Regions from separate parts of the Homo sapiens genome. Here region 2 is linked to region 1. Evidence: promoter capture Hi-C in 16 types of primary human blood cells and fetal thymus (Javierre and others, 2016). All regions are on one chromosome and are shown on one strand. The core of a region is centred on a gene start or on the middle of the fragment in contact, and the rest is flanking DNA. Distances in the headings are between cores, read along the strand shown. Region 1 holds the start of SIK3 (SIK family kinase 3). Region 2 overlaps SIK3 (SIK family kinase 3).

What was found. The method cuts DNA at HindIII sites, captures the fragments that hold promoters and counts their contacts. A CHiCAGO score of 5 or more calls a contact.
Region 2: a fragment that was not itself captured here is called in contact with the fragment with the promoter of SIK3 in region 1 in 17 of 17 cell types (total CD8 T cells, naive B cells, naive CD8 T cells and 14 more); the score reaches 31.8 in total CD8 T cells.

The regions. Positions count from the first base shown.
Region 1 is chr11:117,095,660-117,101,781 of GRCh38, forward strand. It overlaps SIK3 (SIK family kinase 3), which reads right to left and starts at 2,769. Exons shown (of 25, transcript NM_001366686.3): 1 at 2,484-2,769. The coding sequence starts at 2,756. RefSeq lists an enhancer at 1,277-1,326 and silencers at 2,648-2,697, 2,778-2,957. The HindIII fragment of the contact is 6,059 bases long and covers 1,627-6,122 here.
Region 2 is chr11:116,954,616-116,961,305 of GRCh38, forward strand. It overlaps SIK3 (SIK family kinase 3), which reads right to left. Exons shown (of 25, transcript NM_001366686.3): 2 at 2,333-2,449. Among named protein-coding and RNA genes, the nearest start is that of APOA1, 120 kb to the left of the region's middle. The HindIII fragment of the contact is 1,562 bases long and covers 2,846-4,407 here.

The DNA.
Region 1 (6,122 bases), core at 1,519-4,018:
AAGTGGATTCAGAGAAGCATGGAGCAGGCCAAAATATGCTCCTAGTTCACCCAGAGCACGTGACAACTCCTTGTGAATTAAGCTTCACTCATGTAGTCAGAGTAATTTAAGCAGCAAAAGATATAGCACTTGTAACTGTAACTAGGAAATTGCACACTGCTACAGAAACACAAATGAATGCTGGTGTGGCTCCTTCACACATGCAACTCATTGTCCAAGCCATTTCAGTCTCATTCAAGACTTTGAATATTTCCATACATAGGAATTGCACAACTGCATACCACAAATGATCAAAGATAAAAACCAACATAAACAGTGACACCCGTTTGTAAACAAGCCAGTGTTTAAAATGCTGCAGTCCTAAAGGATACCAAGGTCTCAGAGAAAAACTATGAAAAACACACGCACGCACATATACACACACATGAAAATTAGAAAGCGGGCAGACCAGCCATAATTAGGCACTGGCTTTGCTGACTACTGAAGATAGAAATGTCTCTTTTATATTAAAGCCAAGAATCAACTGTTTGCAATTACATTTACGAAAACATTCAACCCTGTCTGTAACAGATTTTATCAATATTTTGGTGTATCCAAGGGCTGGAAGATTCAAAATTCTTTAAATCATGAAACCATAAACCAGGCAACCAATTAAGTTCATGGAGACTATCCCCCAGAGGTCAGAGCAAAATAACCACAGGAGCACAAAGTGATTACACAGAAAATAGGCAGAAAAAAAGGAAAGAAATAGCAAAACAAGGAACAAGGCATATTGTTTGTAAATGTAAGTTTGCCTTGGCTAATAGTCAACTAGACTGGAAACACGGTGAGGGGCTGGGGTGGCAAGTGAGGAGCACACCAAAGTCTTGGCTCAATCGACTTCCCCTGACTTCCCCTCAGGGTCTGAGGGAGCCCTGGACTTTGGTATCTCATTCAGCTCTGACCTGCAGACTGGAGGCCCTGTGATAAAAACGGACAAAAAGGCTGAAGAGGGCCCTCCAGAGGAAGTGAAACTGACCAATCAATTCGCCACAGCCACCCACCCTGACACCCTGGTAAGAAGGGCCCCTTGTAGCCTCAGGCAGAAAGATGGTGGGGAAGGAACTTCAGGTTGCAAGTGATCAGGAGAGAAGGCCTAGATAAGTCACTGGCTTCAGAAAACAAGCCACTGCCAAAAAAGCAAAAACAAGGTAGGTCATGACAACCAGAGGCTAGGCTGAGGAGGTGAGGGGAATTGATGTGGCTTTGGTAGGAGGCGGCAGCAGCTGTAAGGGTTCTTCATTCCTCAGGCTGAGGGAAAACACAAGCTGCAGTTCTAAACATAATGAATGACTACATTAAAAGTATTCATTCAAGTAAGATATTGAGCAAAGAAAATTTTAGAGTAAAAATGGGCTTTGCGGGTTCCACCAAAACCAAAAGATTCCTCCTGATGTCTTAGATTCCAGTCCTCCCAACGAAGGCTACATGAAAGTGCTACCATATTTCCTCAAAGAATTTTACATGCATACATATATAGCTTCCTAATTGACCTTGGCCAATTTCACTCCTATAGCGCCTCAAATCCCTTTGAGAACTAAGGGCTCGATGAGTGTAATCTCCCGGTGTCTGGGTTCTTCAATCACAAGCTTCCCCCCAACCAGTAAAAGCCCACCCTGGGTTCTACAAAGCCCACAATTCCCGACCCTCCAACAACTAAAAATAACCAGCAATCAGCTCTCCCAAATTGTTTAACCCCTGACTACCTAGTGCCATCATAAACCTGGGACAGCCCCCACCCCCACCTCACTCCCCCATTCCCTGGGCCCCTTCCTGTGGACAAGCAAAGCAATTTCCCCCTTATTTCCCCATTTTCCTCATTGCCTCCTCCACTAATCGTGTCTCCTCGGGATCCCCTTCGCACCATCTATCAGTCTTAGATGATCAAATGCGGATTCCTGTCTCTGTCTTAAGGCACCAGGATCCTGGGACCTCCCAGCGCCCTGCAGACGTGCACATTCCCAGTCCGTGCCCCAGCCGTCCTGGGTCCCCTTACAAGCCCGGGTCTGCCACTTCACCCTTGTTTTTCCCCATCCTCCGGGTCCACATTTCATATGCCCCTGCCCTCATTCCCTTATGATTCCCTAGCTGCTGGTTCCAGAGTCTTCTGGGCTTACAGTCTCCCGGCCCTCGGGGAGTTCCGACCCCTTCTTTCCAATCATCCCCTTTACCCGCCTGCCCTCAGCCCCGAGGACCCCTCCCCGCGCCCGGCTCCTGGGCGCCGGTGCTCTGTGCCCTCGGCCCCCTGCTTGGAGTTCCGCCGTCTCGAGTCCCAGGTGTCCCTAGCTCCGCGCCCGCCCCGCCGCGGCTGGCTCCCTCCCGCCTCCCGGCCCCCAACGCTCCCACCACGCGCCGCGCTCGCCGCCCCGACCCCCCGGCTGGGGGGCGCGGACCTCTCCCGGCCCCGCCACGCTCCGACTGCCGCCTGGCCCCTGCGCCGGTACCTTGGCCTTGGTGACGAGGTGCGTGGCCCGCTTGACCACCGCGAAGTTGCCCTTGCCGATGGTGCGGTCGATCTCGTAGTAGCCGATACGGGCGGGCATGGGTCCGCGGGAGGCCGGGGCTGGGGGACGCGGCTGGCCGGCCGCAGGGGACACGGCAGCGGGGGCGGCTGGGGACCCCGGCGCGGGCGGAGGCAGCAGGCGGCCCGCGGGCCCGGCTCCCCCAGTCCCGGCCCCGGCAGCCCCGCCAGCTCCGCTCGCCGCCGCCGCCGCCATCTTGTTGTGCAGTGAAACCTCCGGGGCCGCGGGGAGCCGGCTCGGGGGAGGGGGCAAGGGGGGGCGGGAAAGGGGGGGCCGCGGACGTCACTCGGGGAGGCGGGGCGCTTTCGCCGACCGGCGCCCGGCTCCATGGCAACCGCGGGTCACGTGCCGACGCGCGTCACTGCCCGGAGCCATGGCAACCGTGACCTCACCGGCGGGCTCGACCTTCCCGCGTGGGCCCCGGTTCCTGAGGCGCTGGCTCCCGGGTGCCCCCCTCCGGGAGCTGGCGGTGGGAACCTTCGATGGGCCCCCAACCTCGAAGTCTCCGCCACCTTTCCCGAGTGGGGGGCGCAGGATGCCCGACCCAAAGCCAACCCCCCACCGCCGCTCGAATCGCCAATGTGACCTCTGCTGTGACCTCTGTCCCAGTTCAACGATCACCCAACCTCCCTTAACAAAAAAAAAGTGTTTCCTCATCACCAAAAATACCAGCGTTGTCCCACTTTAGCCCTTGAGGCCACAAATGCAGGAATAGCTACACTCTTGAAGCAACTGTAACCAAGTTGGTAACAACGCAGGGGAATTCTTCGGTAAAATTCCTTCCTCTTACAAAATCCAGCTCACCCTGCACAGTCAACCTAATTGTCACCGAATATAGGAGAATGGGGAAACTAGGATTTGCGTGTTCAAGGGCGGACAAGCCAGTCCAAACAGGCATTCCAGTCATTGGGTGGGTGACAGCCAAAGAAGGTACGTCATTTTCCTTCCTACCACCCCCATCTCTGAACAATTCTACAGGGATGTCTGTCAGAGTGCCTACATACTATTTCTGTTGCTTGTATAACCCTGATGAAGCAGTGGTGCGCATTGTCCAATGAACCACGTCGTGTTTAAACAACAGTCGGTTAAGCAAAATAAATAAGTAAATAATAAAAATTCCATCCTTCCTAGTGACTCTCCGAGGACATTGAGGGTCATCAAGTTAATAACTCCAGCAATTTCATATCTCTTTTTCTTCCCTTGCCTATTACCTGCATCCTTCATAGCTCCCAGGCTTCCTCCTCCTCTCTCCCCTTCCCTTTATTAAATAGATTAACTTAGCTGCTTTAGGTGAGGGTTGCAGGTAGGAAATCAGACTGTCAACAAAATAGTCTTTGGCAGGCTGGGTGGAAAGGAGGGAAGATTGTGAATATTCCAATGTTAAAATGTATTCCTTTGGACTAGTCCTGATCCATCCATATCTATGTCTCTCTCAATGGTAGAACTGTATTGTGAGGTCACTGCATGCACAGTATTAAAAACTGACACCCAGGGCACTGTAAATGTGTGGAAGGATAACTCGTGTTTACTCGCTGACCAAAGAACACCTCCTGGTGCTCCAATTCCCTATCCAACCATGAGTAATGGCTGGGACTTAAGATGGGACAGAGGGGTCATCCCACAATGGTCTTGGATCTATTCCCTGGTAGCTGTTCCAAACTGCCAACACAATTAACACTAATTGGCTCCCTTATTAGCAACTAAAGATAAGAATGAAGTGGGCCTTGGCTTCTTGCATTGGTTAAGCCCTTTCATCAGCTGAGCTCATTCCATCCCAGATAAATGATGGGGTGTGACCTGCCTCTCCTATCACTTCATGGCTCTCAGCTGCCTCTAGCAGGGACTATAACTTTGGTGCTGGGCTTCACAGCTGCAGTTTTTGGGTTTTTGTTTTTTTTTTTAGACAGAGTCTCACTCTGTCACCCAGGCTGGAGTGCAGTGGTGCAATCTCAGCTCACCACAACCTCCACCTCCCAGGTTCAAGCCATTCTCCTGCCTCAGCCTCCCGAGTAGCTGAGACTACAGGCGCACACCACCATGCCCGGCTAATTTTGTATTTTTAGTAGAGACGGGGTTTCGATATGTTGGCCAGACTGGTCTCGAACTCCTGACCTCGTGATCCCCCCGCCTCAGCCTCCCAAAGTGCTGGGATTACAGGCGTGAGCCACCGTGCCCAGCTACAGCTGCAGTTTTACCATCTCCCTGGGTGTCTCAACAGAAACCTTAGCTGGCTAGTAAAGCAAATAAAAAAATCTTTCACTGTGGAAGCTGCAGGAGCAGCACTGAAACCATTCTTACTGATGACTGTATGATCACAGAGTGTCCTCCACTAATGGAGGTAATTCGAACATCAAATATCAGAACTTTTGCTACTCTCTCAAGAGTGTCAAAAACAAAAACAACTCTGGGAAGGACCTAGAAAATGCAGCATTGTTCTAATTTCCACAGAGAAGAAGCAGATGACTCTTGTCCCTCAATAATGACCAGAACATATGCTGTGTGCTGTGTGTTATGTCACTTACGCTCCTTTCCTGTATAGATTGAGGTCACTAGATGGTGTTTCTGATTGAGACTTTGGTAGAGACTTGCTGGAGATCTCCTTGAAGAATAGTCCTCTTTGGCACAAAGAATATAGAAAATTAGAGAAGGGAGTAATCAAAGGAGATCATCAGGCAAAAAGGAAAATAGTTTAGATGTTTACGTTTAATAAGGATTTATTGAGTACCAAGAACTGAGTTAGGTTCTGAGAGAAACTCAGAGGAAATAGCAATCTGCCACGCGTTATGCTAAACAGTGTACCTAAGGGAACTCACTTAATCTTCACAACAACCTAATTAGATGGTTTGTATTATATCTCTATTTTGCAGATAAGGAAAATGAGGCACATAGGGATTAGGGGAATTGGCCAAAATCACAGAGCTAGAAAGTGATAGAACTGGGATTAAAACCCAGGCAACCTACCTCTGGAACCTAGGATCTTCCCCATTGTATTATAATCCCTGTCAAGGTAGGAGCCAGTAGGAAAAGTGGTCTCTCCATTAAGTTCAGGGTGACTGGGCTCAGTTTCGACCCAGGGAAGAAGAGTATTTTGAGAGGTCTTGAAAGCAGGACAGAGCAGGTAGCAGAAGCGCAGGAATAAAGACAACAAGACAGTAAGACTGAATGAAGTGCCTGCGATGGCTTCACTTGTAAATAGCACCAAGAAGAGTATCATGGCTTATTGTGTAGAAGTATTTCTGGCCCTTGAGGCCACACCTGTAATCCCAGCACCTTGAGAGGCCGAGGCGGGCGGATCACAAGGTCAAGAGATCACGACCATCCTGGCCAACATGGTGAAACCCCGTCTCTACTAAAAATACAAAAAAAATTAGCCGGGCATGGTGGCACATGCCTGTAATCCCAGCTACTCGGGAGGCTGAGGCAGGAGAATCGCTTGAACCCAGGAGGCAGAGGTTGCAGTGAGCCGAGATCGTGCCACTGCACTCCAGCCTGGCAACAGAGCAAGACTCCATCTCAAAAAAAAAAAGAATAAAAAAGAATATAGGCCTGGCCAGGCACAAG
Region 2 (6,690 bases), core at 2,377-4,876, 140 kb before region 1:
AAAAGAGAACAGTAATTTAAAATACTCAACCTTTTAAAGTAACGTAAGTGATTTGTGTTTTGTCTTGGTCCCTTTGTTGCTCCTTTTTAAAATTCATTGTAGTATGTTGTCAGTCCTTTCTTCCTTTTTACATTTTCCATCAAACATTTTTAAAAGTAATAATGATTACATACACTCATTATAAAACAAAAGACCAAAGGCTTTCCTCTTCCCAATCTCCTCCATCTCAATCCCCAGAGGAACACTGTTCTCTGCTTATTGTATATCTTTCTACAACAGTGCTGTCCAATAGAAATATAATATGAACTGCATATATTATTTTAACTTTTCTAGTAGCCACATTTAAAAAGGAAAAAGGAAAAGGTGAAGATAATTCTAATACTACTTTTTATTTACCCCAATATATCCAAAATACTATCATTTCAACAATTCTTTTTAAAATTATTTTTAGTTTTACACTTAAATTAATTAAAACTAAATACAATTAAAAATTCAGTTCCGGCCAGGCGCAGTGGCTCACGCCTGTAATCCCAGCACTTTGGGAGGCCGAGGTGGGTGGATCACTTGAGATTAGGAGTTCGAGACCAGCCTGGCCAACACAGTGAAACCCCGTTTCTACTAAAAATACAAAAATTAGCTGGGCGTGGTGGCACATGCCTGTGATCCCAGCTACTTGGAAGGCTGAGGCAGTAGAATCACTTGAACCCAGGAGGCGCAGGCTGCAGTGAGCAGAGATCATGCCACTGCACTCCAGCCCGGGCAACAGAGTGAGACTTCGTCTCAAAAATAAATAAATAAATAAATAAATAAAATTTAAAAAACCCAGCTGCCAGAAAGCAAAATTAAAGCTTGAAAGAAGGCACTGCTCAAAGCTAGCACTGGACCTGTGGAAATCCTCATAGGCTAATCTTGGGTAAGACAGGCAAACTTGCAGAATTCAGTTACAAGGGTAATAGCTATAAGTCAACCTCTTGAGAAAGGTCAGCCTAAGCCCCACAATTATTTAAAGATGATTTATTTTAAAAGGTAAGGTCAAGAAATTTATTCAGCCCATCAGGATAGGAAGGAAGCTGAGGTTAGACACCTGTGAGCTCACAGATATAGGTCTTCAGGCAGCACCAGGAAGCTTTCATAAGTTTGCTTGTGGGGCAGAAGGTAGGCGTTGTTCAACATAATTTAGGCTGATAAATTTCAACAGGTCTGCTCCTGTTGACCTAATTTCATTATGTGAGCAGCTGATGCCAGGGAAGAGCTCTAACGCTGTAGTTTTAACCACACATGTTAATATCACAACATGTTTTCTTTTCCATAAAACTAAGAGGCTACGAAAGCTTGCCCATAGAGCCTTGGGTGTACTTTCTCCACTTTTACACATGGTCCTATGTCTGGGCCAGTAACCATTTACTGCAGACTAACAGCAGCAAAATAACCAAGTGGGTGGCCACGTCCTTCAGAACTAAGAGATGGCTGTTCTGGCAGAAAGCAGCAAGTAGAGTTGGGCCTATGCAGAGGCAAAGTTCTCGGCTGCCAACACATTGCAATTTGAGAAGCATCCCGAAGCCCCACCTCTCCCAAAATATCTCTTTCACCAGCCTGCTAAGGCAAGGTCCTCTCCTCCTATCCCGCTTGAAATTCCAGCCATCAGATTTACTGCTTTTGTAGTTATGCTAGGGAATCATTTTGATGATGGCATGAAATATGCATGTTTCTTGGGAAGACCAAAAAAAAAAAAAACTAAAATAGAAATCTCTCCTATTGGAGAGATCTGGTCACTTGATCTGGTCTCTTGATTATCAAAATAATTACTACCTTGGAAAACTAAGTCTACAATCCTATTAGAATAGAAAAGAGGTAGGTTTTGATTGATCCAAGAAGCAGTCCTTTGCCATAACAATTTATAACATGATCACAGAAACTAGTATTCAAATAATGCTATTAAAAAAATGTTATATTCATCTCTAACTTTTCACCTCTCTAAATTCTCTTCTTTTTGAGTTTCCCATCCTGTGTTAGAACTCTGAACTAAATAAAATAAATTCTCATCATCTTCTGAATTAACATTTTGTGTAGTTGTTGCTAAGAATGGCATCAAATTTTAAAGAACAAATTAAAAAGACCTACCTGGGTAAGGAAAACGTACTAGTAAATGGCCAGGGGAAACTTGAGGATACTAAGTGCTGAGCGCGTAAACAGAAGGGTAGGAAAGATAGCAGGATTAACATAGAAACAAAAAAAGTCACAGATGTTCACCCACCCACATTTCTTCAAAGGGAGCCATACATACAATATTCTGGGTTCTTTGCAGCTATCTGCTATACACTAATGATCCTACCTGGTAGAGCCTGATGATATGGGGGTGGCAAAGCATCTTCATAATTTGAACTTCCCGGAAAATCTTCTTCAAGTTTTCTTCATCCAGCTGGGTCTTATCTATGATCTTGATAGCAACCTGACAACAGAGGGAAAAAAATTACTCTGATGCATTATTAAAAGCAGTTTACTAAGAAAAATTAGGTTCACTTTAAAACATTACGTTCCATAAAATATAAGCTGCCAGTATTCTGTTTACAGAATGTCAATGAGGAAAATTAATTTACTCTTTTTAAAAAGATAGGAAATGGATTCCTAGCAAGTTGGTCTCAAAGGAACAGACTCCAAAAGCTAATGGGTCTTCTGCCATTTCTTCAATTGCTTATACGGTAAAATCCTATGAAAAAATACTTTATTACTCCATAGATGTCGTTACGGTCTGGGTCAAATCATGTTTCAGTGCAGAGTGGTATACAGGGTCTCTCATTAAGACAAGAAGCTTTAAATAAAATAAAAAATTTTTAAAAAGGCAAGAAGCTTGTATCATAAATACATGGTGTCTTACTAAGGTTCTATGAGAACTTTCACAGGGGCTTTACACATCTCACCAGATGCTTGTAGAACTCAATAATAATAATAATAGTAGCAGTGATGGTGGTGGCAGCAGCAGTAGCAGCATCTACCATATACGAAATGTTTACTATGGGCCAGGCATAACTCTTAGTGGTTTGGAAGTACTAACTCATTTAAACCTCCTAACACCCACCTTATCATTAACCTTGCTTTAGAAATACAGAAACTGAGGCACACAGAGATTAAGTAATTAACCCAAGATTAAGTAATTTACACCTAGTATGTGGCAGGTGCAGGATTGAAGCCTAGGTAGCTTGGCTTTAGAATCAAATTCTTAATAAGAATGTTATAAGAATCTGAAGATCTTTCTTTAGCATACATGCACTGCATCATAAAACATATCTTTCCAATGTGCCCCCTTTTAATAAGATACTCATCAGCAAATACATTTTAATGAAGAATGAACGATGAAGGACTTTTAAAAATTTACTAAATCTAAACTTCCTCAGTGAAATACTTAAAATATTTGTGTTGCTCCAAAATATGTCTATATCTCAGTTTCAATTATGTAATCAGTATGGAAGCAATACTGGTTAGATGAAGAACCTAGACTAGTCAAACTCTAGTCCTCTCCAAATCTTAACATTCTAAGATTCTATGCACCAGAGAGGTAAAGGGAACATATACAGTACTTACTGAGGAAAAAATCAGGAAAACAAAATTACAAAAGTAAAAATGTTTAGCTCAGAGAAATAAAGACTGTTTGGAGCCATACGTGGCAGATTATTCAGATGTATAAATGGCTGGCATAAAAGTAACTTTATCTGAAGCTGTTTCAGGTGTTAAAATGAGGACCCACGGGAGAAAGGCACAGGGAGATAAATTTCAGCTGTACTCAAAGAGCATTCAAGCCATGCCTAACGAGGGAGTGTGATGAAAGGAGCTGGGTGTGGCTGGAGCTACAAGGATTAATCAGACACAGCCTAAACTTCAAGGAGATCACAGTCTAAAAAGGAAAAAAGATGTGTGGAACTGAAAACAATGCAGCATTGGAAGTACAAGCAATGGAGCTATGTACCAGGTATAACAACAGACAGAGGATGGTGAATGACCTTCACCTACAGGAGAAGAGGTAGAAAAAGTCTGGGAAAGACTTGACAAAGAAAGCAGAATTTCACTACAGAGAGAACTGGGATAGGCAGAGAAGAAGGTAGAGAATTTAATGAGGATCTCACCAGCTGCTTGGTTTCCTGTAAGAAGTCTTGGATAATATAACCCTTGACCACCTGCATTTCTACTTCTCCTCATTACTGCACCAGATCACATACAAGACCTTAACTCCACAACTGGTCTAGCATCTGCTCCTGCTTCTCTCAGGACAGCTCCCAAAACAACAACAAAAAAAATCATGGTACACAATGTCTCTTCCTAGAACAAATAGCTTGGTCTTAATAGTCATTATTAATAAAATCTTACATGTGAATGGCACCTTGTAATGTACAGAATGCTTTCATAAATATAACAAGCTTAGAAACTTGCAGATATATCCCCATAGCAGAGCTGCCAAACAGCTGTAATCCCAGCACTTTCGGAGGCCAAGGAGGGCAGACTGATTGAGTCCAGGAGTTCAAGACCAGCATGGGCAATATGGTGAAACCCCATCTCTACTAAAAAACTTTTTAAAAATTAGCCGAGCATGGTAGCATGTGTCTGTAGTCCCAGCTACTCAGGAGGCTGAGGTGGAAGGACAGTTTGATCCCGGGAGCTGAAGTTGCAGTGAGCTATGATCGTGCCAGCAACAGAATGAGACCCTGTCTCAAAAGAAAAAAAAAGAACTTCCAAACAAGTGTGTTGGAAATGGGTTACAAGCAATAATGGATCACCTCCAATCTCAACTTTCTGTGCATGCCATGATGTGCAAAAGGTGGGAAGAACTGCTAGGATTTATTTACCTTAATAACAGAGGGCATCAACTGTCTAAGGCCTGTGCCTGAAATCTTCCACCTCTGCCCACCCCCTACTAATTGATGGCATGTACAATGTAACTGGGGAAAAGCGGGTGACCTTCAGGTTAACTTATGAAATTTGTGCATTCTTTCACCTCCAAGAGATCACAGGGAGTCATATAGTGGGGCCTCCCTGATTCACAAGGCACTCACTCTAAATTTCATTTGCATTCTGAAGCAATAGGATCTTCATAATGGTAAACAGAGATTGTGTGGCTCCCAGTCAGCCACACAATCACGTGGGTAGATAACAATAGAGTGAATTAAATGCATTTCTGACTTACCATATTTTCAACTTATAATGGGTTTATTGGGACGTAACCCATCATAAGTCAAGAAATATCTGTACTAGCAATAATGCCTTTTGTTGGCTATAATTAACAATAATTTATTACATATTTCAAAATGGCTGAAGGAGATTTGAAATGTCACCAACAGAAAGACATGATAAATGTTTGGGGTAATGGATATCCTAATTACCCTGATTTGATCATTACATGTTGTATCCATGCAGCAAAATATCAAATGTACCCCATAAATATGTACTATAATAAATAAATACATACATACATGAATTTTACAAACAAATGTACTTCATCTTTTCAGGAAAAATTGCATTGAATATAATCTGTTCTTAGAAGGCACGTACAAAGAAGTTTTAATAGATTAAAACATCAAACTCCTGTCTACTCTTCAGTGAGAGTTCAGATTCCAGAAGACATTGAAAAGTGAAGCTTTGGGCCAGGCACGGTGGTTCACGCCTGTAATTCCAGCACTTTGGGAGTTAAAGGCAGGCGGATGGCTTGAGGCGAGGAGTTCAAGACCAGCCTGGGCAACAAAGTGAGACCTCATCTCTACAAAAAATAAAAAAATTAGCCAGGTGTGGTAGTGTGTGCCTGTAGTCCCAGTTACTCAGGAAGCTGAGACAGAAGGATTGCATGAGCCTAGCAAGGGTGAAGTGAGCCGTGATCACGCCACTGCATTGCAATCTGTGCAACAGAATGAGACACTTTCTCCAAAACAAAAAAACAAAACAAAACAAAAAAACCAAAGTGAAGCTTTATTTAGCAGTTGAATATAGTACTGAAAGCAAGGACTCTGAAGACAAGCTACTTAGATTCAAAATCTTGGAACTATCCCTTAATATATAACCTAGAACAGGTTACTTAATTTTCCAATGGCTCCCTATCTGTAAAATGTGGGCAACAATGGAACCTACTTTAAAGTGATTTTGGGGATTAACAAAGCTAATACATGCAACCTGATTAATATAATGCCTGGCACAGTAAACAGGCAATATATGTTAATTACAGGTAGTGCTGTTGTTATTTTATTTTCTTCTGGAATCAAGCCTTCAACTTTAGGCATTCCTTGGCAAGGATTAGATTTGCTTCACTAAGCAACATAATCCTGGATCTGAAACACATCAATTCCTTATTCAAGGGACAAATTGAGGGACCAAGAAGCAAAATAGCTAACAATTTGTGGGCAGCATTCAGAACCAACTGGCTGCCGCCAGCTGATGTGGGAAGAACATGGAAAGAACAGAGCTGGAAAAAAAATAAACGCATTCCATTCAGGAAAGTCACAGTGAGCCATAGGATGGAACCCACAGCAAGACCCGACCCTGAGGGCTGTGGCAGAGAGACACTGGTCTACTTCTTCACAGCAGGCCAGGCTCCCCTTGCCAACCCTACCTACTAGCTAACACCTGAGAGGAGAGAACTTACTGTTGCTTGGCAATGGCATAACTGCCTGATAAGACCACTTAACAGGGAAAGGAACTCAGCTCCTACCTTAG